3 separate regions of the Homo sapiens genome follow, and regions 2 and 3 are each linked to region 1. The links are contacts of gene promoters, found by promoter capture Hi-C in blood cells and fetal thymus (Javierre and others, 2016). All regions are on one chromosome and are shown on one strand. The core of a region is centred on a gene start or on the middle of the fragment in contact, and the rest is flanking DNA. Distances in the headings are between cores, read along the strand shown.

What was found. Contacts are between HindIII fragments. The CHiCAGO score rates a contact against its expected background, and 5 or more counts as called.
Region 2: a contact is called between a fragment that was not itself captured here and the fragment with the promoter of TSPAN18 in region 1, in 1 of 17 cell types (M0 macrophages). The highest score is 5.1, in M0 macrophages.
Region 3: a contact is called between a fragment that was not itself captured here and the fragment with the promoter of TSPAN18 in region 1, in 1 of 17 cell types (naive CD4 T cells). The highest score is 5.4, in naive CD4 T cells.

Annotation. Positions count from the first base shown.
Region 1 is chr11:44,724,249-44,728,454 of GRCh38, reverse strand. TSPAN18 (tetraspanin 18) reads right to left here and starts at 1,493. Exons shown (of 10, transcript NM_130783.5): 1 at 1,168-1,493. The region is part of intron 2 of TSPAN18-AS1 (TSPAN18 antisense RNA 1); the gene reads left to right. RefSeq lists silencers at 361-530, 1,367-1,516 and enhancers at 1,707-1,876, 1,243-2,104, 2,105-2,965. The HindIII fragment of the contact is 6,014 bases long and covers 1-2,343 here.
Region 2 is chr11:45,298,266-45,302,215 of GRCh38, reverse strand. No RefSeq gene overlaps it. Among named protein-coding and RNA genes, the nearest start is that of SYT13, 14 kb to the right of the region's middle. RefSeq lists an enhancer at 2,981-3,525. The HindIII fragment of the contact is 5,523 bases long and covers 1-3,950 here.
Region 3 is chr11:45,344,171-45,348,578 of GRCh38, reverse strand. No RefSeq gene overlaps it. Among named protein-coding and RNA genes, the nearest start is that of LINC02696, 9.0 kb to the left of the region's middle. RefSeq lists an enhancer at 768-1,306. The HindIII fragment of the contact is 3,341 bases long and covers 1,049-4,389 here.

The DNA.
Region 1 (4,206 bases), core at 244-2,743:
GATTCGACCAGATCCAGGAAACAAAGGTGCAACTTTTACAAAAAGGGTGCATGCATTTTGGGGTTTGGGTTTCTGCAACTCCAAAAACCGTCAAAAAGTTAATTCCCCAACCCACTCTCTCTGCACCAATTCGCAGTTGTAGTTTCTTACATCTTTTTCTGGGGGTAAATTTCTTACTCATCCATTTGCCCTGGCAGCCTTCCCGAGAAAAATCACATCCTGACTCCTAGCCTTTCCAGCCCACGGCGCAGTTATAACTGTGAACCTTTCGCCTCACTCTTGGTCCCGCTCCCCCGTCTGGCTAGTGTAGGGCGGGCTCCTCGGGGCGGGACCCCGCGTAAGTTGGGTGTCTGTGGTCCCTGCGTCCTGGATGTCGGCGCGGTTGCCTCGCAGGAGCCAGAACGCGCTTCCTGCTGGCGAGGGCCGGGGCAGTGCGCCCCCTGGCGGGAGCCCAGTCACCTCACTCCAGCAGGACCCGGAGCCGGCGCGATCCCACCCGAGCCGAGCACCGTCCCAACTGGCTCCCACTGCCCCCTAAATCTGGACGTGCCCGAGCCTCCCACCCACCCAGCACTCCATGGAGTCTCCACTTCCCCAAACCGCACACACCTAAGGAATAAGGGGGGTCCTGGAGGAACGAGTGGCGCCTCCGCCCCGCCCCGCCCCGCTGCCAGGGACCCCAAAGGCAGCCCGCCCTCCATGCAGCTGCCGGGCCCCACAGCCCTCCCGGCCCCGATCGCCGCTCCCAGTCCCTGGTCCCTCACTGTCTTACCGGGTGGCGTGGCGAGCAGCCCCTTTCCGGGCGCAGCCCTGGCCGAAACCCCGAACCTTGTAACCACACCTGCCACCCCGCGCCGTTCTCCAGAAGCCCCCACTCCTCCACCCGGAGCACTGGGAGCCCACCGGCTCTGCACCTGTCCTGGGCGCAGCCCCCGGCCCTCAGCGGACTCCGGGCAGGCACGGGGTGGAGACCGTCCCCGGCCCCCCAGCCCCCGCGTGCTAGTTTGAGTGGAACTTGGTTGCCGGGCTTCCGTCCTGGGATCCCTACTCCACCCCAATTCCCCGCCGCGTCCAGCAGCACCCCCGGGGCGGCGCGCGGGGGGGTCCCCAGGTCCCCGGGGGCGCGGCGGCGGCGTGCGGAGGGCACGGAGGTGCGGAGCCCCATACCTTCCAGCGGCGGCTGCCGGACCCCGCGCCAAATCCCGCCGGCGGCCGGGGGGAAACTTTCCTGGTCGGAGGGGCGCGCTCGCAACTTGCCCGGCGCCGGCTGCCTTCCCGGCGGTGGCGGCGCGTCCGGGGACCCGCAGCGCGAGGCGGCGGCGCTCGCTCGGGGCTCGGGGCCGGGACCGGGGCCGGGGCCGGGGCCGGGGCCGGGGCCGGGGCTGGGGCCGGGGCCGGGGCTGGGGCTCGGGCGGCCTCGCGCGGCTCCGCGGTGGATCGCTCGGCGCTACGTCCGCCCCGCAGCCTGGAGCCCCGCGACGCCGGCGGCAGCTGCACGCCCGCCAGCCCGCCGGCCCCACCTCCGCCGCCGTCCGTCCCTCCCCTCCCCCGCCCTCCCTCCCCCTCCCCAAACCTCCGCCCCTCCCGGCTCCAGACGCCGTTGCTGCCGAGAAGCGCGTCTCCTCTGCGGGCTGCCCCTCGCCTCCCGCCAGCCTCCGCCTCCTCCTCCAACCCCGCGTCCAGGCCTTGTCTGGGGGTCCCTGGGCCCACCCTCTGCCCATCTCCCCTTCCTCCGCCTCCGACCACCTCCCGCTCTGCTCGCGGGCCCTCTCTGCGTCTGAATTCGGAAGATCGTTGCGGGAGTGGGGAGAGGGGCATGCTGGACCCGAAGTGTTTATTCCAGGGGAACTTTCAGCTGACCCCGGGGCCCAAACGCAGGGGTTGGGGTGAGATCCTCGGTCCTGATCGGGCTCCTGGGCTTCCCGCTGCCGGGGGAAGTACCTGTTGAAAGCCTGGGGAACTCACCCTCCTCTGACTTGCAGATAAGAAAGGGGACTTCCTGCATGGAGGGGCCTGACCCCAGGTCAGATGCAAATGACTTGATTGCAAGGGGCCAGATCTGTGTCTCCGGCCTCAGGGCTGAGGTTCTTGCGGGGCTGGGGAGCTTATCTTTTCTTCTCTGTACTGCTGCCACAGCAGCACTGGCTCCCAACCCCTGACATGACTTGCCTGAGACTTTTAACCTCTGAGCCTCCTCTAAACAACTACCCGACCCTGCCCCAGACAAAACGGACAAGCAAGCAGATCAAAACTGACAGCCCAAGTGAAAGTACTGATGACAGGGGCTCGGGTCGCCCACTCCTCTTCCCTTGGCAACTCTGTTTTGAGTCCCAGCTTGAAGCTTCCACACCCCATCCCCGTGGGCCCTAGGCATTCAAGCACACATCAGCTCTGCAGGAGGCCCCTTGGCCAGCTGATTCTCACTAAGGGGTGACTGATAGGAAGGAGTTGACCCTACTCCTGTCTTGTATATGGATGTTGGTAGTCAGGCCACTGGGCAGAGTTTGGGGGGAGGGGGATCTTCTTGTTTTGTTTTTGTTTTGTTTTTGAGACAAGGTCTCGCTCTGCTGACCAGGCTGGACAAGCCTGGTCAACAAGCACAGCTCACTGTAGCCCGACCTCCTGCACGGCTTACTGTAGGCTCGACCTCCTGGGCTCAAGCAATCCAATCCTTCCAACTCAGCCCCCTCGAGTAGCTGGGACCAGAGGCATGTGCCATCATGCCTGGCTAATGTTTTCTGTTGTTTTTGGTGTGTGTGTGTGTGTGTGTGTGTGTGTGTGTGTGTGTGTGCGTGTGTGTTTTGTAGAGCTGGACTCTTACCATGTTGCCCAGGCTGGTCTCCAATTCCTGGCCTCAAGTGATCCTCCCACCTCAGTCTCCCAAAGTGCTGAGATGACAGACGTAGCCACTGCACCCAGCCACCAGCCAGAGTTTTGAGAGGCAGGAAGTGGCTGCCTTTCCTTGCCCACATTCCAGGAAATGGATTCGTCCCTGTAAGGGGATGTCCCTGTAAGGACTTCAGGGATGTCTGGTCCTTTAAAGAACTTCACCGCGTCACCGGGACTCTTAGAGTAGGCACGTGGCTGGAAGAAAAATCCCTGGATCCGCGGTTTCAAAGGGACCCAGAGTGAGCAAAGCTTCACCCAAGGGGAGGAAGTCCCTAATGGTGGAATTTCTATAAGAGGAGGACAAGGAGAAGGGCTCCACATTCACCCTTCAGCTGCCAAAACAGAATGGAGGGTGGAGGCTGAACACCCCACAGGCCCTGCACTTGTGGAATGCTGCTGGGAGAGGCCCCGTGTGAGCCTCCTTGGACACCAGGCGCCACATACATTTAAAGAGGAAAAACGGGAAGCCCACAGCAAGGGTGCTGGAGCTGGGGAAGTGGAGACCAGAGACAGGCAGAGAGAGGGATAGAGTCTCTAAGGGTCTGGGGCTTGGCAGAACGGGGCAGGCGCAGGGGAAGAGAGTGCAGACCCGCTGCACAACTTAGACAACCAGCTCGGTCCCTGACTCCAGTTCCAAGTCAGTTTCCTGGACCTCAGCCTCTCTCCAGCCTCCATGGAGGACCTGGCCCTATCTGTGCATTAGCTAAGGACATCTGCTGAATAGGCTTCTCTAAATCAACTCTTATTTTTTCATTCTTTTTTAATTTACTTAAGTGAGCTTGTTTTTAAAAAGATATGTTAAATTATTACCATAAATGGAAAGCCAGCATCACATTACTATAAATAGAAGGTAACCATCAAAATAAATACAATGAAAATAAGTGTTATTAAATTCTAACAATGTATCTTTAACCACAATAATAATAATACAGTCTAACAAGATACTGCTGCCTGAGGAGGTGTTGAAGCTGAGGTCCCACTTTCTCTTTGAAAGGAAGGTTACCAAAGGCTAGAAAGGTGTTAAAGACACATTAGCAACAAACTCTTCATCAAGAGCATTGATGAAAAGAGAATTGGGAAGGGACCCCCTCCACTCCCACTCCTCACCAGGTCAATTAGGGTATTGGAGGCCCTTGGATTACCTCCAATGACCTTAATTTCCTTGAACATCTCGAATGTCCTCTCAATTGGGAAACATAATTCTATGTATTGGTGCAAAAGTAATTGTGGGCTGGGTGCAGTGGCTCACACCTGTAATCCCAACACTTTGGGAGGCCTAGGTGGGTGGATCACGAGGTCAGGAGATTGAAACCCTCC
Region 2 (3,950 bases), core at 560-3,059, 570 kb before region 1:
GCCTAGTCCATTGGGAGGAGGTGTTTACTGGGGTCGGGGCTCCTGCTCTCCCTTTGCCCTGAGATGGGCCCCTTGAGCTTCGTGTGCTCAGGGAGAAGATTGATGCTCCACTTTTAGGGCCAGGCACATCAGGCCTTTGGGACCACTGGCTCCCAGCCCAGACCCTTCGCCTTTCCTGGGGTACAGGGCTGCTGCTGCAGCCATTGCTCAGTGGCAAAGCCAGGCCTTTGGAGGCCCCAGGTGGGGAGCAGGTCAGAGGAACTACTGAGGCAAAAAGGAGGGGAGGAAAGAACTGTCCAGGAGGCCTTGGCTTCATGCTCATTAACCAGCTCCACAGGTGCTGCGAATGGAGCCTGGTGACCAGGGGGTGTTTACGGGCTGCTGCAGATGGTTATTTTATGGCTGGGGGTGCAGGCAGGAAATTGGGGTTTTATGGCTTACTAAACATCAATAACAATTAAGCTCAGTTAGAGACTCCACTGCCCTCCATAGGCCAAAGTACTAAACAAATATTAGGTAAGGAAGTCATCCATTTCACCTGCCTCCCAACGAAGTGTCTCCACCACACACTCTGACCTAAGTCCCTTCCTAATTGCAGGAGTGGCAAGGCCTAAGTTAGGTTCATTTGGTTTTGTTGGTTTTTGCTTTCCAAGGAAGTGAGGATTTAGTGATTCTTTTGCTTAGGAAAAAAAGATGAGGAAAGATATGCCCCACTAAAGGGGTTAAATAAAAGAATGGATTATTACAATATCAATTGTTTAAATTTTATAGGTATATAGGAAGGGATTTATTAGGGGAATTGGCTCATATGATTATGGAGACTGAGAAGACCCACGACAGGCCACTTGCAAGCTGGAGAACCAGGGAAGGCAGCAGGGTGGTTCTGTCCAAGACCAAAGGCCTCAGAACCAGGGAAGCCAATGGATGTGGGGCCAGAGTCAGGGAGTTGCTGGAATTTGCTGATGTGGACCTTCTTCTCAAAATTGCAGAAATGCTGGGACTGGGACATAGCATTTTCCAGGGCAGGGAATGATGACCTTAAAAAAGGAGATGCAAGGGAATTGCATTATTGGCCCTGAAATAAGAACTATTTTGTTGTCAACAGGCCCTCAAAGGATTTACTCTAAGTGCTTTGCAGCCCCCACCAAAATGACTCAAAATTGCTGATGACAAACTATCCTGGCTGAGTCAGGTACAAACAAAGTACCTGACTCCCAGATACCTGTGGTCCGGAGGGCTCCCATGGTCTCTGACTCCAAGAGACATTGAGGGGAGTATCCACTCTTGGCGGCTGCTGGCCGAGTTTTCTGATTGCTTTCCTGGAATGGTATGCCTGGTGTGTACTGCATGATCCTGCAATCCACCATCCAGCCCCCAGAGAGGCCCTGTATCCTGGATCTCACCCAGCCTTGGGACCCTCTCTCCAAGGTTCAGTGATTCTTCAGGGAGGGAAACAGATCCACAGACAAACCCTGTGCTCACCCAGCTCCATGGATGTCTCTACCTTCGAAGAATCTTGATTATCACTCATTCATGTCAATCACTCATTCATTCAGCAAGTATTTCTTGAGGACCAAGCACTCTGCTATGGTCAGGGGATACAGCAGTGAACAGAAGAATAATGGACACTGCTCTCGTGGGGCTTCTTTTCTAACCAGGGTAGACTTTCTTAACCTTGGCACTACTGACATTTGGGGGTGGATGATTCTGTGCTGGTTTGAAGACGCTGTCTTGTGCACTGTAGAATGTTTAGCAGCATCTCTGTCCTTCGCCAACTAGATGCCAGTGATAACTCCCCCTCTCTTAGTTTTGGCAATCAAAATTCTTTCCAGATGTTGTCAAATGTCCCCTGGAGAGCAGCATTATCCCTAGGTGAGAACCTCTGAACCAGGAGACACACGCATGCACGCACACACCCCTTAACATACAGTTAACAGGGAGCTCACTGAAGGGAGTGCCTTGGACAAGCTCTGGGCTCCTGTATTTACCATCAGGACCCCACCTAACTAGGGCCAATATTATTTTGTTGCCAGGCAAGTTAGATGACCTAACTTATTCCTTATAACATAGCTATTCCCTTCTGCCCCCCTCCCATAGTACAGATGAGGAAACTGAGACTTAAAAGAAATCCAGCAAATTGTCATTGCTATTAAGTGGAGTGGCTGGCATTGGAACCCAGGCAGTCGGAAGCCAGACTCAGCCCTATTAGCCAGGATGCACGCTATAACTCTGTAGGTGTGTTTGCCTCACCTGTGCCTCCAGAATGCCAATCAAGAAGATGTAATGAGATGCTTCATTGGGAAGCATGGGGAGCTATCTAGAGAGATATGCAATTTAAAGCTGAGCATCTCAAACAGGGGTGCTGGGCCTGCAACAGGAACCTTAGAAACAAACCTAGGACCAATTTTTGTTTTTCCTCCTTGTGTGACTTAAAACACTTTATTTCAGGGCTGATAAAATCTATGGTGGAAGCCGGGCGCGATGGCTCACGCCTGTAATCCCAGCACTTTGGGAGGCCGAGGCGGGTGGATCACGAAGTCAAGATATCAAGACCATCCTGGCCAACATGGTGAAACCCTGTCTCTATTAAAAATACAAAAATTAGAATTAAAAGGAATATTAAATAATGACAAGTGCTAAGGGTTTGAAAAAGTAAGGCGATGGGGAACAGGGAGTTATGGGGCAATGGGTGGAGAGCTGGTAATTTTACATAAAGGGCAAAGAAGGCCTCATAGGGAGAGGTAAAGGTCTGGGAGTCAGCCAGGCATGGTGGCTCATGCCTGTAATCCCAGCAGTTTGGGAGGCCAAGGTGGGTGGATCACCTGAGGTCAGGAGTTCAAGGTCAACCTGGCCAATATGGTGAAACCCTATCTCTACTATAAAAATACAAAATTAGCTGGGGGTTGTGGCAGGCGCCTGTAATCCCAGCTACTTGGGAGGCTGAGGCAGGAGAATCACTTGAACCGTGGAGGCAGAGGTTGCAGTGAGCCGAGATTGCACCACTGCACTCTAGCCTGGCGACAGAGCGAGAAGCTGTCTCGAAAAAAAATCTATGGTGGAGGAGAATACAAAATCAGACTCATTTTGTTAAAATGGTAAAACTACAGAGACTTGCAAGAAAGTGCATGTTCACCACTATCACTTCATGCCCTCAGGCCCTTACTAGATATGGTGGGAAAGGCGGAAAAACTCTGATTAACAACAACAATAACGAGTATTCATAGGCCCTTTCACATGCAATGGCTGCTGTTCTAAGCACTTTGCCTGTGTTAACTCAATCCTTACAAAAACCCTATGGGGTTAATTAAGGCAACTGGGGCCCCTAGAGGGGAAGTAACTTTGCCGAGGTCCCATGCGAGGCTTGTCTGCAGAGCCAGGGCTGGTTCAGGCTCACCTGCACACCACAGAGCCTCGGAGTTCAGTGGGGGGAGTTTCTGCAGGGCAGGTAGGTGTCGCTAGAAAGTTGGTTCCGGGGAAGCAAAAAAAGAACTCAAGGCCCTGCCCTCCTCTTGAGGCACAGCCAAATTATTGATGCTTCTCAAACTGTGCTCCATGGCCCATCCACACCAGCAGCATGTGGGAAGTTTGTTAAAAAACGTCGATTTCCCATCTTAATTTAAAGACAAAACAAAAAGCAAAAAAACCCCTCCTCATTTATTTATTAAAATAAGAAGTCTAACAGAGCCAAAGGCTTTTCTCCCTGATCATGTATGTGAGAGAGTCCAATAGTCCTGCCCTGATTTGACAGAGCATCTTACTATATATATCTATATCTATATATCTATCTATATATATATAATGAGACGGAGTTTTGCTCTTGTAGTCTGGGCTGGAGTGCAATGGCACGATCTTGGCTCACTGCAACCTCCTGGGTTCAAGTGATTCTCCTGCCTCAGCCTCCTGAGTAGCTGGGAGTAAAGGTGCCTGCCACCATGCCCAACTAATTTTTG
Region 3 (4,408 bases), core at 1,470-3,969, 620 kb before region 1:
CCTCCTGGGTTCAAGTGATTCTCCTGCTTCAGCCTCCAGAGTAGCTGTGATTACAGGTTCCTGCCACCATGCCTGGCTAATTTTTGTATTTTTAGTTGAGACAGGGTTTCACCATGTTGACTAGACTGGTCTCGAACTCCTGACCTCAAGTGATCTGCCTGCTTCAGCATCCCAAAATGCTGGGACTACAGGCGTGAGCCACCATACCTGGCCGATATATGCTTCTTTATTTATGCTTTTATGTTACAAGGTCTAATAGTGGATCTAATTGCCAATTTTGCTGCACAGATGAGCCTGAGCTTGATTTCAACATATCTGTAGCAACTGTAATACATGAAAATGTCGGTGATTTCTATTGGTGACAATGAGGACTGATAACATTACTATGGTTTGTTGCCTGCTTTCCAAACCAAAGTGCTACATTTCGGTTGGAAGTTAGCAAACATAGATATATTTTTCCTCATTTGAGTTCACAGACCCCTGAATTCCCTCCACAAACATGTTACGGGTCCGTGGACCCCTGGATAAAAGTCACTGGACTAGCACCTTCCCAGAGAACCAGGAATTAGAGGGGCTTGGAAGCAGCTGGTTTTTGGGGCAGACAGAAAGCTGGTCCCAGGGTTCCGTGTTTTATGTTAACGACAATCATCTCTCCGTTTTCCTGATTAAGAGCTGCTGTGGAGCCTCATGCACTATTTGACTTAGCCAGGAACTTCAAAAGCAGATGCCTGACAAGAATAACTCTTTACTCTTAGATTTAGGGCAGAGCATGATAACAAAGTCCTGAGCAAAGCTTTGCAAATGTTCAGTTTTCAGTGATGTAGTATAATTCTGCGGGGCATTTGTTACAAACACATTTTTTTCCAAAGAAAATTGTTTTATGGCTTAATGTGAAAGCAACTCTCCTAGCAGACTCTCGCCTGCCTCACCAAAGCCCCTTGCAGGGCCCCTCTGGTTCCCGACCTCAAAGAATGCCCTGCAGTTTGTGAGGAGCCCACGAGATCTGCTTTAAAAAGGTCAGGCACTATATTTTGTCATTTGTGAAGCTTACCATATTTGCAATCCTGCTCTCAGCCTCCCTGTGGCTCAATTAACTGCTGATGATACCTTCCAGTGTGGCAAGGCCCGAGGCCTTCTCTCTGCCTCATTATTTTATACATTTTGAAACGCTGGCTTTTTAAGTTAGAGATTAATTTTCCTGCACCGAGGGGGGTGTTAGTGGAAGGAAGCATGCTTTTACTTGGCAGGAAAAAAAAATCCTCCAACATGGTCATACCAATTTATACCATACTAGCGATATGTAAGAATTTCAGTTGTTTCATCTTTGTCAGCATTTGATATTTTTCCATCATTTTCATTTCAGCCATTATGTTTTAATTTGCATGTAATGTGTTTATTGGCCATTTGGACACCTTGTTTTCTAAAATGCCTGTTCAAATATTTCACACATTTTTCTATTGAGTTTTATTCCTTTTTTAAAAAATTGATTCACAGGAATTTGTTATATATCCTAAATATAAGTCCACTGTTTGGCTATATGAATTGCAAATATCTTTTCCAAATCTGTAGTTTGCTGTTTTACCCTATTAGTAGTGTCTTTTGATAGGCAAAAGAGCTAATTTTAATAAAGTCCAGTTTACTTATTTCCTTTGTGGGTGGTGCTACTGTTAAGATTTTTTTTTTTAAGAAGTTGGGTAGCCTCGCTGACGTTAAGATGCACTGGTGCAGTGTTTTCGCTGCTTAGCCTGTCCTGTGGAGGGCTTGTGTTCACACGCCAGGCCTGTGTACCCCTGGGAAGGCGCCATGCTTAGAGTAGCACCGTACAAGAAATATATGATGCAAGCCATGTGTGTTATTTAGATTTTTCTAGTAGCCACATTTACAAAAGCAAAAAGTAAAAGATGAAATTAATTTTGATAGTATATTTTATTTAACTAAATATATCTAGTACTCAGGCCATTTCAATGCTTAAAAATTCACTCTGCTCTTTGGGAGACCAAGGCAGGCGGATCATGAGGTCAAGAGATCAAGACCATCCTGGTCAACATGGTGAAACCCCATCTCTACCAAAAAATTAGCCGGGCGTGGTGGTGCGAGCCTGTAGTCACCGCTACTCAGGAGGCTGAAGCAGGGGAGGGGGGCTTGAACCTGGGAGGCGGAGATAGCAGTGAGCCGAGATCGTGCCACTGCACTCCAGCCTGGTGACAGAGGGAGACTCCATCTCAAACAAACAAACAAATTACTGTGCTTTGGTTTTGAAATGAGATTTAAATTTTAGTCACACTAGCCACGTACACATGGTAAGTAGTCACATCTCTCTGACTGTTATCATATTGGACAGTACAGGTTTAAAAGTTGACAATCAGCTCTGGAGGCAAATGACCTGGGTTCTAATATGGCTGTGTCCCTTTATAACAATAGCTAACACCTATGGACTGCTTCCTCCTTAGCAGGCTCTGTCCATAAGAAAATAAAGACACTGAGGGCCTCAGGCATACCAAGTACTGTGCATGATTTATATTATTTAATCCTTCCAAACCATGCGAGGTAGGTAATGTTCTTACCCCCAGTGGTGGTTAATTTTATGTGTCAATGTGGTAGGTTGTAGCACCCAGTTGCTAGGTCAAGCACCAGTCCAGATGTTGCTGGGAAGGTATTTTTTTAGGTGATTTTAGGTGATTAACATTTGAATCAGTAGACTTTGAGTAAAGTACATTACCCTCTTTAATGTGAGTAGGTCTCCTCCAATCAGTTGAAGGCCTTAAGAAAAAAGATTGAGGTCCCGCCAGGAGGACAGAACTCTGCCTCCAGACTGCCTTTGGACTCAAAACTGCAACAATCAACTTCTGCTGGAATTTCCAGACTGCCAGTCACCACTGCAAAGTTTGCATTTTCCAGCCCCCACCATTGCATGAACCAATTCCCTAACATAAAGTCTCTCTCTCTCCCACACTGCTTCCCCTCAGCGCCCCCACACCCACATCCTATTAGTTCTATTTCTCTAGAGAACACTGTCAAATATACTACCCATCCCAATTTCCCTCAATAGGGAAACTGAGGCAGCTTGGCTCCAGAGCTCATGCTTTTAACCTCTGTGCTGCCTCCAGCCATTTGGAAAACTCCTTAACTTATTTAGGTCTCAATTTTGTTATTGGCAAACTAAGATGAGTAGTGCCTACGCAATAGGTTTGTTGTGAGGACTGTTTGAGATGACATAAAGCACCTGGCATGTAGTAAGTACTCAATGCAAAGTATTGTTGCTTGTTGATGTTTTCCATCTTAAGACACTCAAAGCAGAACATATTACTGGTTATACTGTAGATATCAAAGAATTAAAGAGAAGGAAGGGCAAAGTTTAGAAAAGTCTATTGTATGAGATTCACTGATGATCTTTATCACAGGCACTTTAAATTTTTGCCATGCCCATGTCAATAAAAATGGCTATTTTTAAGTGAGTCCCTGCCATCTGCACAACATTTGAATTCCATCATCTCATGAAATCCTCACATGAATCCTACTGGGGAATCATCATTGTCATTTCCCAATTCCCAGTTTAAAGATGAGAAACTGAGGCCGCAAGTGAATCAGAAACTTATCCAGCTTCTAAATGACAATCTCTCAGGGAAATAATTTCCCAGTACCTTCATGTTGTCAAACCATCAGATTATTTCTTTTCTTTATTAATCCTTTACAAAGAGGCTTGTAAGTGAATTGAAATTAACATCAAGTCATTGTAGGGAAATTGAAAACTTAATCATTCCCGTATTCTCCTTCATTTTTATCTGCTGCTGGGTGCATACATTTGTAATTCAGCTTTGAAACTGTCATATAATCTTACAATTTTTTTTTCTTTTGCAATTTTGTGCAGGTAATCCTGAGGGGGATTTTTCATATATTGTAGATGATTAAAATTGAATGTAGCTTATAAAAAAATGAATTGTTAATGACTGAGAAAGCCTTGTGTTCTTTGAAAATATTTGTTGTTAAATGAAAAGAGACTTCAGAATGTCAATATATTTCCCTTTGTTTGTTTTCCCCCTCTTCCTACTTGTATTCTTCCCATACATTTTAAATTGGTGTAATCCACAGATTAATTTTTAGGTATTTCTTTGAGTTATGTTCATAAATGTCAGGTTTTATAGAAAGATTATTTTTTGCAAGTTTTAATACGTTTTTTTCTCCTTCATTCTCCTTTCTTTGATGTCAGGGATGAATAAATCCAGTTTAATATGACTTTCATTTGTGAGGCTTAACATAGAAACCATTGTAAGGCTAAACCAAACCTCCTTCTGTTTTTCAATGATTATCTTTCTCTGTCAAAATGAACCAAGCCCTCTAGTCTGAGGATTTGAAAGAAACAAGTCCTAAGAATAGTCAGAAATCAAAGCTTGCAGGGTGAGCTCAGATT